Regions from separate parts of the Homo sapiens genome. Here region 1 is linked to region 2. The links are contacts of gene promoters, found by promoter capture Hi-C in human tissues and cell types (Jung and others, 2019). All regions are on one chromosome and are shown on one strand. Each heading gives the region's core, a stretch centred on a gene start or on the middle of the fragment in contact. The rest is flanking DNA. Distances are from core to core; before and after follow the strand shown. Region 1 overlaps TPGS1 (tubulin polyglutamylase complex subunit 1). Region 2 holds the start of POLRMT (RNA polymerase mitochondrial).

What was found. The method cuts DNA at HindIII sites, captures the fragments that hold promoters and counts their contacts. A contact is called where the count stands out against the background at its distance.
Region 1: a contact is called between a fragment that was not itself captured here and the fragment with the promoter of POLRMT in region 2, in 2 of the 25 tissues and cell types used here (IMR-90 fibroblasts and pancreas).

The regions. Positions count from the first base shown.
Region 1 is chr19:513,342-518,198 of GRCh38, forward strand. The region is part of intron 1 of TPGS1 (tubulin polyglutamylase complex subunit 1); the gene reads left to right. Among named protein-coding and RNA genes, the nearest start is that of MADCAM1-AS1, 7.9 kb to the left of the region's middle. The HindIII fragment of the contact is 7,591 bases long and covers 1-4,857 here.
Region 2 is chr19:631,105-635,969 of GRCh38, forward strand. It overlaps POLRMT (RNA polymerase mitochondrial), which reads right to left and starts at 2,433. Exons shown (of 21, transcript NM_005035.4): 1 at 2,321-2,433; 2 at 1,730-1,834. The coding sequence starts at 2,408. LOC105372234 (a long non-coding RNA gene) reads left to right here and starts at 2,360. Exons shown (of 2, transcript XR_936226.2): 1 at 2,360-2,791; 2 at 2,880-4,865. RefSeq lists silencers at 2,217-2,376, 2,387-2,646. The HindIII fragment of the contact is 7,301 bases long and covers 1-2,505 here.

The DNA of each region.
Region 1 (4,857 bases), core at 93-2,592, 120 kb before region 2:
AAGGAGCGTACAGCCAGATGGGCCTAGAGTTGAATTGCAGGTCGCTGCCCTCCTGCCTCTGGGCCTCAGTTTCCTCCTCCATAGCAGAGCTTTGACCCTCGAGCTCGCTGAGATGGCACGTCCATCCCTAAGCCCTGAACTGAGCAGCAGTGATGACCAGGGAGGCACGTGTTCACCAGGCACCCACCGTGCACCGGCCCAGCATTACTGAGCACCTACTGTGCACCCGCCCAGCATTTACTGAGCACCTACTGCATGCCGGCCCTGCATTACTGAACACCTACTGCACACCAGCCCAGCATTACTGAGCACCTACTGCATACTGGCCCTGCATTACTGAGTACCTACTGCACACCAGCCCAGCATTACTGAGTACCTACTGCACACCAGCCCAGCATTACTGAGTACCTACTGCACACCAGCCCAGCATTACTGAGTACCTACTGCACACCAGCCCCACATTTACTGAGCACCTACTGCACACTGGCCCCACATTTACTGAGCACCTATTGCATCCTGGCCCAGCATTTAGTGAGCACCCACTGCACACAACCCCAGCATTACTGAGCACCTACTGTGCACTAGTCCTGCATTACTGAGCACCTGCTGCACACCAACCTGCCCCGGCCCCACATTTACTGAGCACCTATTGCATGCTGGCCCAGCATTTACTGAGCACCCACTGTACACAGACCCAGCATTACTGAGCACCCACTGCACACTGGCCCCACATTTGCTGAGCACCTACTATGTACCAGCCCTGCATTCACTAAGCACCTACTGTACACCAGCCCTGTATTACTGAGCACCCACTGCACACTGACCCTACATTTACTGAGCACCTATTGCATGCTGGCCCAGCATTTACTTCACTCCCACTGCACACCGCCCCAGCATTACTGAGTACCTACCGTGTACTGGCCCTGCATTCACTGAGCACCTACTCTACACCGGCCCTGTATTACTGAGCACCCACTGCACACCGACCCCACGTTTACTAAGCACCTATTGCTTACTGGCCCAGCATTTACTGAGCACCCACTGCACACCGCCCCAGCATTACTGAGTACCTATTGCACACCAGCCCCACATTTACTGAGCACCTATTGCATTCTGGCCCAGCATCACTGAGCACCTACTGTGTACCAGCCCTGCATTACTGAGCACCTGCTGCACACCAACCCTGCATTTACTGAGCACCTACTGCATGCTGGCTTAGCACTTCCCCGGCACCTACCACAGGTGGCCCACAGAAAGGTGAAGTCGTGTGCCCAGGTCATGCCGGAGGGAAGGCTGCCCTCCTCACCATGAAGCTGAGCTCCCAGAAGGGAAAAGCGTAAGCCCTGAGGTTGGCCACTTCCTCTCTGGGACCCTTGGCCAGACCATGGGGCTGCCCTGAGCCTCAGTTTCCCTATATGTCCCAGAGGAAGTAACAGGCCACTAGCATGAGGCCTGGCCGGGAACTGATGGGGGGAGTGAGGCCAGGGGGTTAAGCAGCCCACCCAGGGTCCTGCAGCGGCCCCCACGCTGGCCACGGTGCTCCCTGGCCACTCCCTGGTGCCCTCCACGGGAGTGTGTGTCACACTACCAGCACACGAGTGGCACGTAGTAAGGCCTCAGGCTCCTCACTGGGGCAGGGAATCGAACCCACCCCAGAGCCGGCAGCAGGGCTGACAGCCTTCTTCTGTAAGGGGCCAGATAGTGAACATTTCAGCTTTGCGTGGCAGCCTCCATCCTGACATTCAGCTCTACGGTTCTGGTCGGAAGCTGCCACAGGCCACATGTCAGCGGACTGATGTGGTTATGTTCCGATAAAGCTTTATTTACAAAAGCAGGCAGCAGGTCGTATTTGACCCTCAGGCTGACTGTGGGGCCTTGCCTGTGGGATTGTGGGGAGAGAAATACCACCACTGGCCCCGAGCAGCAACTGTCACCTGTAATCCCAGCAGTTTGGGAGGCTGAGGCAGGAGGATCGCTTGAGCCCAGGAGGTGGAGGCTGCTGTGAGCCCTGATTGTACCACTGCTCTCCAGCCTGCACAACACAGTGAGACCCTGTCTCAAAAAAAAAAAAAAAAGAAAAAATGCAATGTCAGCTGTGTTAAATGTTCAGCACAGACTGGGCGCAGTGGCTCACACCTGTAATCCCAGCACTTTGGGAGGCCGAGGTGGGCGGACCACGAGGTCACTCGAGATCCAGACCATCCTGGCCGACATGGTGAAACCCCGTCTCTACTAAAAATACAAAAATTAGCTGGGTGTGGTAACACACGCCTGTAATCCCAGCAGCTCAGGAGGCTGAGGCAGGAGAATCGCTTGAACCCGGGAGGTGGAGGTTGCTGTGAGCTGAGATTGTGCCACTGCACTCCAGCCTGACAACAGAGTGAGACACTGTCTCAAAAAAAGAAAGAGGGCCGGGCGCGGTGGCTCACGCCTGTAATCCCAGCACTTTGGGAGGCCGAGGCGGGTGGATCACGAGGTCAGGAGATCGAGACCATCCCGGCTAAAACGGTGAAACCCCGTCTCTACTAAAAATACAAAAAATTAGCCGGGCATAGTGGCGGACGCCTGTAGTCCCAGCTACTTGGGAGGCTGAGGCAGGAGAATGGCGTGAACCCGGGAGGCGGAGCTTGCAGTGAGCCGAGATCCCGCCACTGCACTCCAGCCCGGGCGACAGAGCGAGACTCCGTCTCAAAAAAAAAAAAAAAAGGAAGAAAGAAAGAAAGAAAAGAAAAAAACAAATGTCAGTTGTGTTAAATGTTGGGCACAGTATTTGGCCACATGTAAACAGGCGCTGCTGCTGCAGGGAGGGAGACCAGAGGGTCCTGGTGTTGTGGGACAAAGAGTGGAGAGACCGAAAAAGGTTCAGGAGAGTTTATCAAGGTGATCACCGGCTCAGCTGGACATACATCCAGAAAGTCTGAGCCTCGAACAAAGGGCTTTTCCTATTTTTAAACATCGTAAGGCGGGAACTACGTGAGGCGGGAAGCAAGTTACAGAGGCGAGAAACAAAGGCAGTTAAGCATTACAGCATTTCTTTTTTCTTTTTCTTTTTTTTTTTTTTGAGACGGAGTCTCGCTCTGTCGCCCAGGCTGGAGTGCAGTGGCGCCATCTTGGCTCACCGCAACCTCCACCTCCCAGGTTCAAGCGATTCTCCTGCCTCAGACTCCCGAGTAGCTGGGACTACAGACGTGTACCACCACGTCCCGCTAATTTTTGTATTTTTAGTAGAGATGGGGTTTCACCATGTTGGCCAGGATGGCCTCAATCTCTTGACCTTGTGATCCTCCCACCTCGGCCTCCCAAAGTGCTGGGATTACAGGCGTGAGCCACCGTGCCTGGCCAACATTTCTCACATCTTGAGAAAAACATGTCTTACAACCTAAACTTATCGGTTTTGTGACCCTGCAGCCGTGCTAGGGAGGTAAGCAGGAACTCGCTGGGCCTGTAATAAACTGAGGAATGTGGAGTTGGAGAGTATAGATAAGGTCCACTGACTACAGAGAGAAGACAGGCTGTTAACATTCTCTTTTAACTTGAGTGTAAGGGTGGGGGTCACACTTTGCAGCAACTTTAAGAGGATTTTAAAATTTCTATGACTACTACTATTAGGTTAGAGCTGATTTCACTAATTCCTTCTTCACTGGGGCCAGATGCCCCAGACAGATGCCTGCCGTTGATTCAAGACATTTACTGAGCACCTACTGTGGGCAGGGCAGTGTTCTGGGCACCAGGGCTATAACCAAGACGAACTTCCGGCCCTGGAGGGCAGGTGCTCACACTGGTGGGAGACATGAAGCTCACAGGGATGTGGGACAGCGAGTGAGACAGGATGACCACTAGGAAGAAAACAGGAGGAAAGGAGTTAGGGGTCAGGGGAGGCGACATTTGAGGAGAGACCTGGAGGAGACCAGGGAGGAGGTGAGGGAGATCTGGGGGAAGGCAGTGTCACGGCCCTTGCAGAGGCCCTGAGGCCGGTCCAGTTGGAGCTGGGAAGCCAGGGCTGGATGGGAGCTGCGGGGAGGAGAGGCCTGAGCTGGGTGGAGGCTGGGAGGGGGGAGGCCAGGCTGGGTGGGGGCTGGGAGGGGGGAGGCCAGGCTGGGTGGGGGCTGGCCAGGCTGGGTGGGGGCTGGGAGGATGGAGGCCAGGATGGGTGGGGGCTGGAAGGGGGGAGGCCCAGGCTGGGGGGTGCTGGGAGGACGGAGGCCAGGCTGGGTGGGGGCTGGGAGGGGGGAGGCCAGGATGGGTGGGGGCTGGGAGGAGGGAGGCCAGGCTGGGTGGGGGCTAGAAGGGGGGAGACCCAGGCTGGGGGGTGCTGGGAGGACGGAGGCCAGGCTGGGTGGGGGCTGGGAGGGGGGAGGCCAGGCTGGGGGGTGCTGGGAGGAGGAGGCCGAGGCTGGGTAGGGGCTGGGACGGGGGAGGCCAGGCTGGGTGGAGGCGGGGATGAGGGAGACCCAGGTTGGGAGGAGGAGGCCGAGGCTGGGGGTGCTGGTGGGGAGGGGAGGCCCGGGCTGGGCGGTGCTGGGAGGAGGGAGGCCAGGCTGGGTGGGGGCTGGGAGGAGGAGGCCCAGGCTGGGTAGAGGCTGGGAGGAGGGAGATCCAGGTTGGGAGGAGGCCCAGGCTGGGTAGAGGCTGGGAGGAGGGAGATCCAGGTTGGGAGGAGGCCGAGGCTGGGGGTGCTGGTGGGGAGGGGAGGCCCAGGCTGAGGGGGTGCTGGGAGGAGGAAGGCCTGGCTGGGTGGGTGCTGGGAGGAGGGAGCCCCGGGCTGGGGGGTGCTGGGAGGAAGGAGGCCAGGCTGGGTGGGAGCTGGGAGGAGGGAGGCCCAGGCTGGGAGTGCTGGTGGGGTGGGGAGGGGAGGCC
Region 2 (4,865 bases), core at 1,183-3,682:
CTCAAGATAGCGCCATTGAACTCCAGCCTGGGCAACAGAACAATAATCCATCTAAAAAAAAAAGACTGTTGAAATAAGCCGGGTACAGGGCCGCGCACCTGTGGTCCCAGCTACTCCGGTGGCTGAGGTGAAAGAATCACCTAAGCCTAGGAGTTCCTGGCTGCTGTGAGCCGTGATCAGGCCACCGTGCTGCAGCCTGAGAGACAGAGCAGGACCCTGTCTCAAAAAAAAAAAGGGGGGGGGGGACCCAGGTGTCCAGATGTGGTGGCTCACGCCTGTAATCCCAGCACTTTAGGAGGCCGAGGCAGGCGGATCACGAGGTCAGGAGATCAAGACCATCCTGGCTAACACGGTGAAACCCCGTCCCTACTAAAAATACGAAAAATTAACCGGGCGTGGTGGTGCGCGCCTGTAGTTCCAGCTACTCGGGAGGTTGAGGCAGGAGAATTGCTTGAACTCGGGAGGCGGAGGCTGCAGTGAGCCAAGATCGCACCATTGCACTCCAGCCTAGCAACAGATTGAGAATCCGTCTCAAGAAAAAAAAAATTGCTGAAATAAAAAGACAAGCGTGATGTCCGCCTTCAGAGTGCTCCAAAACTCAGGAGATACTTTTAGGATTAACAGTTGAGAGCTTTGTTTTGTTTTGTTTTGTTTTTGAGATGGAATTTCCCTCGTTGCCCAGGCTAGAGTGCAATGGCATGATCTCGGCTCACCGCAACCTCCACCTTCCGGGTTCAAGCGATTCTCCTGTCTCAGTCTCCCCGGGTTCAAGCGATTTTCCTGCCTCAGCCTCCTGAGTAGCTGGCACTGCAGGCGTTCACCACCATGCCCAGCTAATTTTTGTATTTTTAGTAGAGACAGTGTTTCACCATGTTGGCCAGGCTGGTCTTGAACTCATGACCTCTTGATCCGCCCGCCTCGGCCTCCCAAAGTGCTGGGATTACAGGCGTGAGCCACCGCACCAGGCCTCGGACCCTTGACCTCTTGATCCGCCCACCTTGGCCACCCAAAAGTGCTGGGAGTACAGGCGTGAGCCACCGCACCAGGCCTCGAACCCCCGACCTCTTGATCCGCCCACCTCGGCCACCCAAAAGTGCTGGGATTACAGGCGTGAGCCACCGCACCTGGCCAGGTTTTTTCCCTTTATAAAGGTTCTCCCGCCTCTCCCTTCCCGGCTGCCTAATGGACGCAGACAGGATGTGGGACAGAAGCACCGGCGGGAAGCAAGCACAGGGAAGCTCCCACCTCCCTCCCACACCACCAGCCAGGCCAGGACGAGGGCCTGCCACCGCTGGAGCCTGGGCTGTCCCTCCCAAGTTTCGCAGTCATCCAGTCTCCATTAGGCGCCTACCCCCCAGAGCCAAGCCAGGACAGCTGAGTCAGTTCAGGGTTCACATCCTGGCTCTGCACATGTGGCCTTGGCGGCGGGGCCGGGGGGGGGGTCTCTCCAGACATAATCTTGGGCCTCACCTATGTCCCTGGAAAGTGGGAGCACCTGGTGGGGTTCTGGGGAGGGGGAATTACGAGAGCTCCAGGAAGGAGCCTGCTCAGCAAGGACAGGGCCCATGAGCGGTGCAAGAGATGTTTCAGCAACGCCGTCTGGGCGTGTCCTGGGACCCGAGAGGTGGAGACCGCCCTCAGCCTGTCTCAGAATCTGAGCCTTTGCCTTTTCTCCCGGCAGCAGGGAGCGGACTCTCCTCTCCCGGGCCGCCGTGGGGGTCGCGCTCACCCTCCAGCAGCTCCACGTGGCCCCAGTCCTTCCTGCGGTCTTGGTCTTGCTCCTGGGGGCTGGCGGACGAGCTCCTCCTGGGGCCGCAGACGCCACCGGCGGTCCCTGCGGGAAAGACGAGAGCGGCTGAGCGGGGCCGGGCGTGTGGGCGGGGGCCTCCATAAAGGCAGAAGCCGAAGGGTCGAAGGGCAAAGGAGCCCTAAACGCAGCGGAAACTCTCGGAGCACGGGCTTAAGTTGGAAAGAAACTAAGACAGCGAAGGTGGAAGGGCCCCGCCGCGGCGAACACGGGCGCGGAACCGCCGAGAGAGGGTTCCTCGCACTCGAGGTGCAGCAGGTCAAAGGTTAAGAGCCCTAAACACCACACCTGGGGTCAGGAGGCTGCATAAGAAACCACGAGTCAAAGGTCAGACTGCACGGAGGAGCCTCAGTCGAAAAGCGGGCAAGGGCGAGTGGAAAGCGGGGCCGGGTCGGTGGGCTGCGCACGCCCAGGTGCAAAGAGGCAAAGGTCAAAGCGCCAAAGGCCCCGGCCGCGCGGGGAGGAGCCCACGCCGTGGCCCCCGGGCTGCCTGGCCGTCTCCCTTTGTGTTACCTTCTTTGCCGGGGAGTCCCGGGCGGCCGCAAGGCCGTAGGGCTCGTTTGAGCCCCGCCGCTCCGCGGCCCCAGCAAAGTGCCGACATTACGCACGCCGCTCCAGGCCACCCCACCGGCCCGCGCCTGCGCATGCGCCCGCGCCGCCTGCCGGGAGTTGTGGTTTCATGGTCGACGGAGGCTGCGAAGGGAAACCCCAGCCGGAAGTAGACTCCCAGGATGCAGCGGAGGCGCGAAGGCATGCGCCGGTGGACGCTCTGATTGGTTCCTCCTGCTGTTTTTAAAGGGAGGGGGCGGGACAGAGCTGTTGCCGTGGCAACTGGGAGGCACTCTCAGGCTGTTTTCCCGAGGACCTCAAATCCGGACTTTTTTTCTGTTTTTCTTTCTTTTTTGGTTTTGTTTTGGACGCGTTGTGGCCCAGGCTGGAGTGCAGTGGCGTGATCATAGCTCAGTGCAGCTTCGAACTGCTGGGGTAAAGAGATCCTCGCCCCTCGGCTTCCCAAAGCGCTGGGATTGCAGACGCCGCCACCGTGCCCGGCTTTTTTTTTTTTTTTTTCAAGGCATACTCATCTAATAACGAGGACAGCATCTGCAATTTAGAGATTCCTGTCCGCAACCTTCATTGCTCCAACGACAACTTTTGGGTAAGAGTCATTAGGATGCCGTCTATCATGGAGGAAGCTGAGGCTCAGAGAGGGCCACCAAGTTGCTGGAAGACACAGCACGTGCGACCTCAGGGAGGCTGCAAGGAGAGAAAGCCCCAGTCCGCGAGACTCCCAGCCTCCAGCTTCAGTTTACCCTCCAATCCCCAAGCCCTCAGGGGCAGGAGCCGAATGGAGCGGCAGGCTTGGATTCACCTGCTAAGTGGGGTGAGGTCAAGGGAATGAAATAAACCTCGGAGCCTAGAGCCTGCCCTGGTCTCCGCGTGATCCTGCCTAGGAGGAGCAGGGCGGGAGCTTTAGAATGGAACCTGGAAGGTGTGCCCACCTGTGTCGTTCAGCCGGGGCAGCAGGCCAGAGGCGGGAGCGCCTGCTGTGGGGCAGTAGGCTTGGGAAGGGTGAGAATAGGAATATCTGGGGGTAACTGTGTTCCAGGCTAATATCCCAGTTGCAAAGGGGAGCTGGTTTGGTGGCTCAGGCCTGTCATCCCAGCACTTTGGGAGGCTGAGGCGGGCGGATCACCTAAGGTCAGAGTTCGAGACCAGCTTGGCAAATACGCAAGCATGCCTGGCAACATGGCAAAACCCCGTCTCTAGTAAAAATACAAAAATTATCCGGGGGTGGTGGCGGGCACCTGTAATCCCAGCTACTCGGGAGGCTGAGGCAGGAGAATCGCTTGAACCCGGGAGGCGGAGGTTGCAGTGAGCCAAGATCTCGCCACTGCACTCCAGCCTGGGTGACAGAGCGAGAACCTGTCTCAAAAAAAAAAAAGTGCAAAGGGAGGTCAGTTCAGTGCCTCAGGCCTGTAATCCCAGCACTTTGGGAGGCTGCGGCGGGAGGATCGCTTGAGCCCAGGAGTTCCAGACAAGCCTTGGGCAACCGAGATACTGAGACCCAGTCTCCACCAAAGGAAAAAAAGAAATTAGCCAGGCATGGTGGTGCACACCTGTGGTCCCAGATACTCGGGAGGCTGAGGCAGGAGGACTGCTTGAGCCCAGGAGGTTTAGACTGCAGTGAGCTGAGATGGCGCCACTGTACTCCAGCCTGGGTTGACAGAACAGGACCCTGTCTCAAAACAAAACAAGTGCAAAGGCCCTGAGGCAGGAACAAGCGTGGACAGAGGAGCAATTTGAGCAGAGTGGGGCTGGGGAGAGGGAGCAAAGATGTAGCTGGGGCTCAGTTAGGGGGCCTGACCACACGGGGGCTCGGGGGCCTCAGCTCAAGCTATCCTCCATCCCCAAACCCTGGCACTTCAGTTTCCCCATCAGCCCAGAACGAGGACTCGACCTCACTCTGGAAGGGCCTGGCAGCCTCCTTACAGCACATTCCAGACGCTGCTGCCGACGCCTGCGTGAGCGCACTGATGCCACCGGCTGGGAATGTTTTCGACAGACGGCAGCACCCTCCCTCACCTGCCTCAGTCCACCTCAGGGTGCCCCAGCGGGCTGTGACCTCAGACCTCACCCACTACTGGGGTCACCTGCCTGGCCCTGAATCAGCCAGGCCTGGTGTGCCAAGACCTACAGACACCCCCTGCACCCCTGCAGGCTGGCAGAGCCAGAAACTTGGGTGGAAACCGACTTCTGAACTATTTCACCATTCCTTATGCGTTAGTCTTTTCTTTTATTTGATGAGATCCCAGCACTTTGGGAGGCCGAGGCGGGCGGATCACGTGAGGTCAGGAGTTTGAGACCAGCCTGGCCAACATGGTGAAACCCCGTCTCTACTAAAAATACGAAAATTAGCCGGGCATGGTGGCCTGTGCCTGTAATCCCAGCTACTCAGGAGGCCAAGGGAGGAAAATCACTTGAACCTGAGAGGTGGAGGTTACAGTGAGCCAAGATCGCACCACTGCACTCCAGCCTTGGGCAATGTAGCCAAACCCCA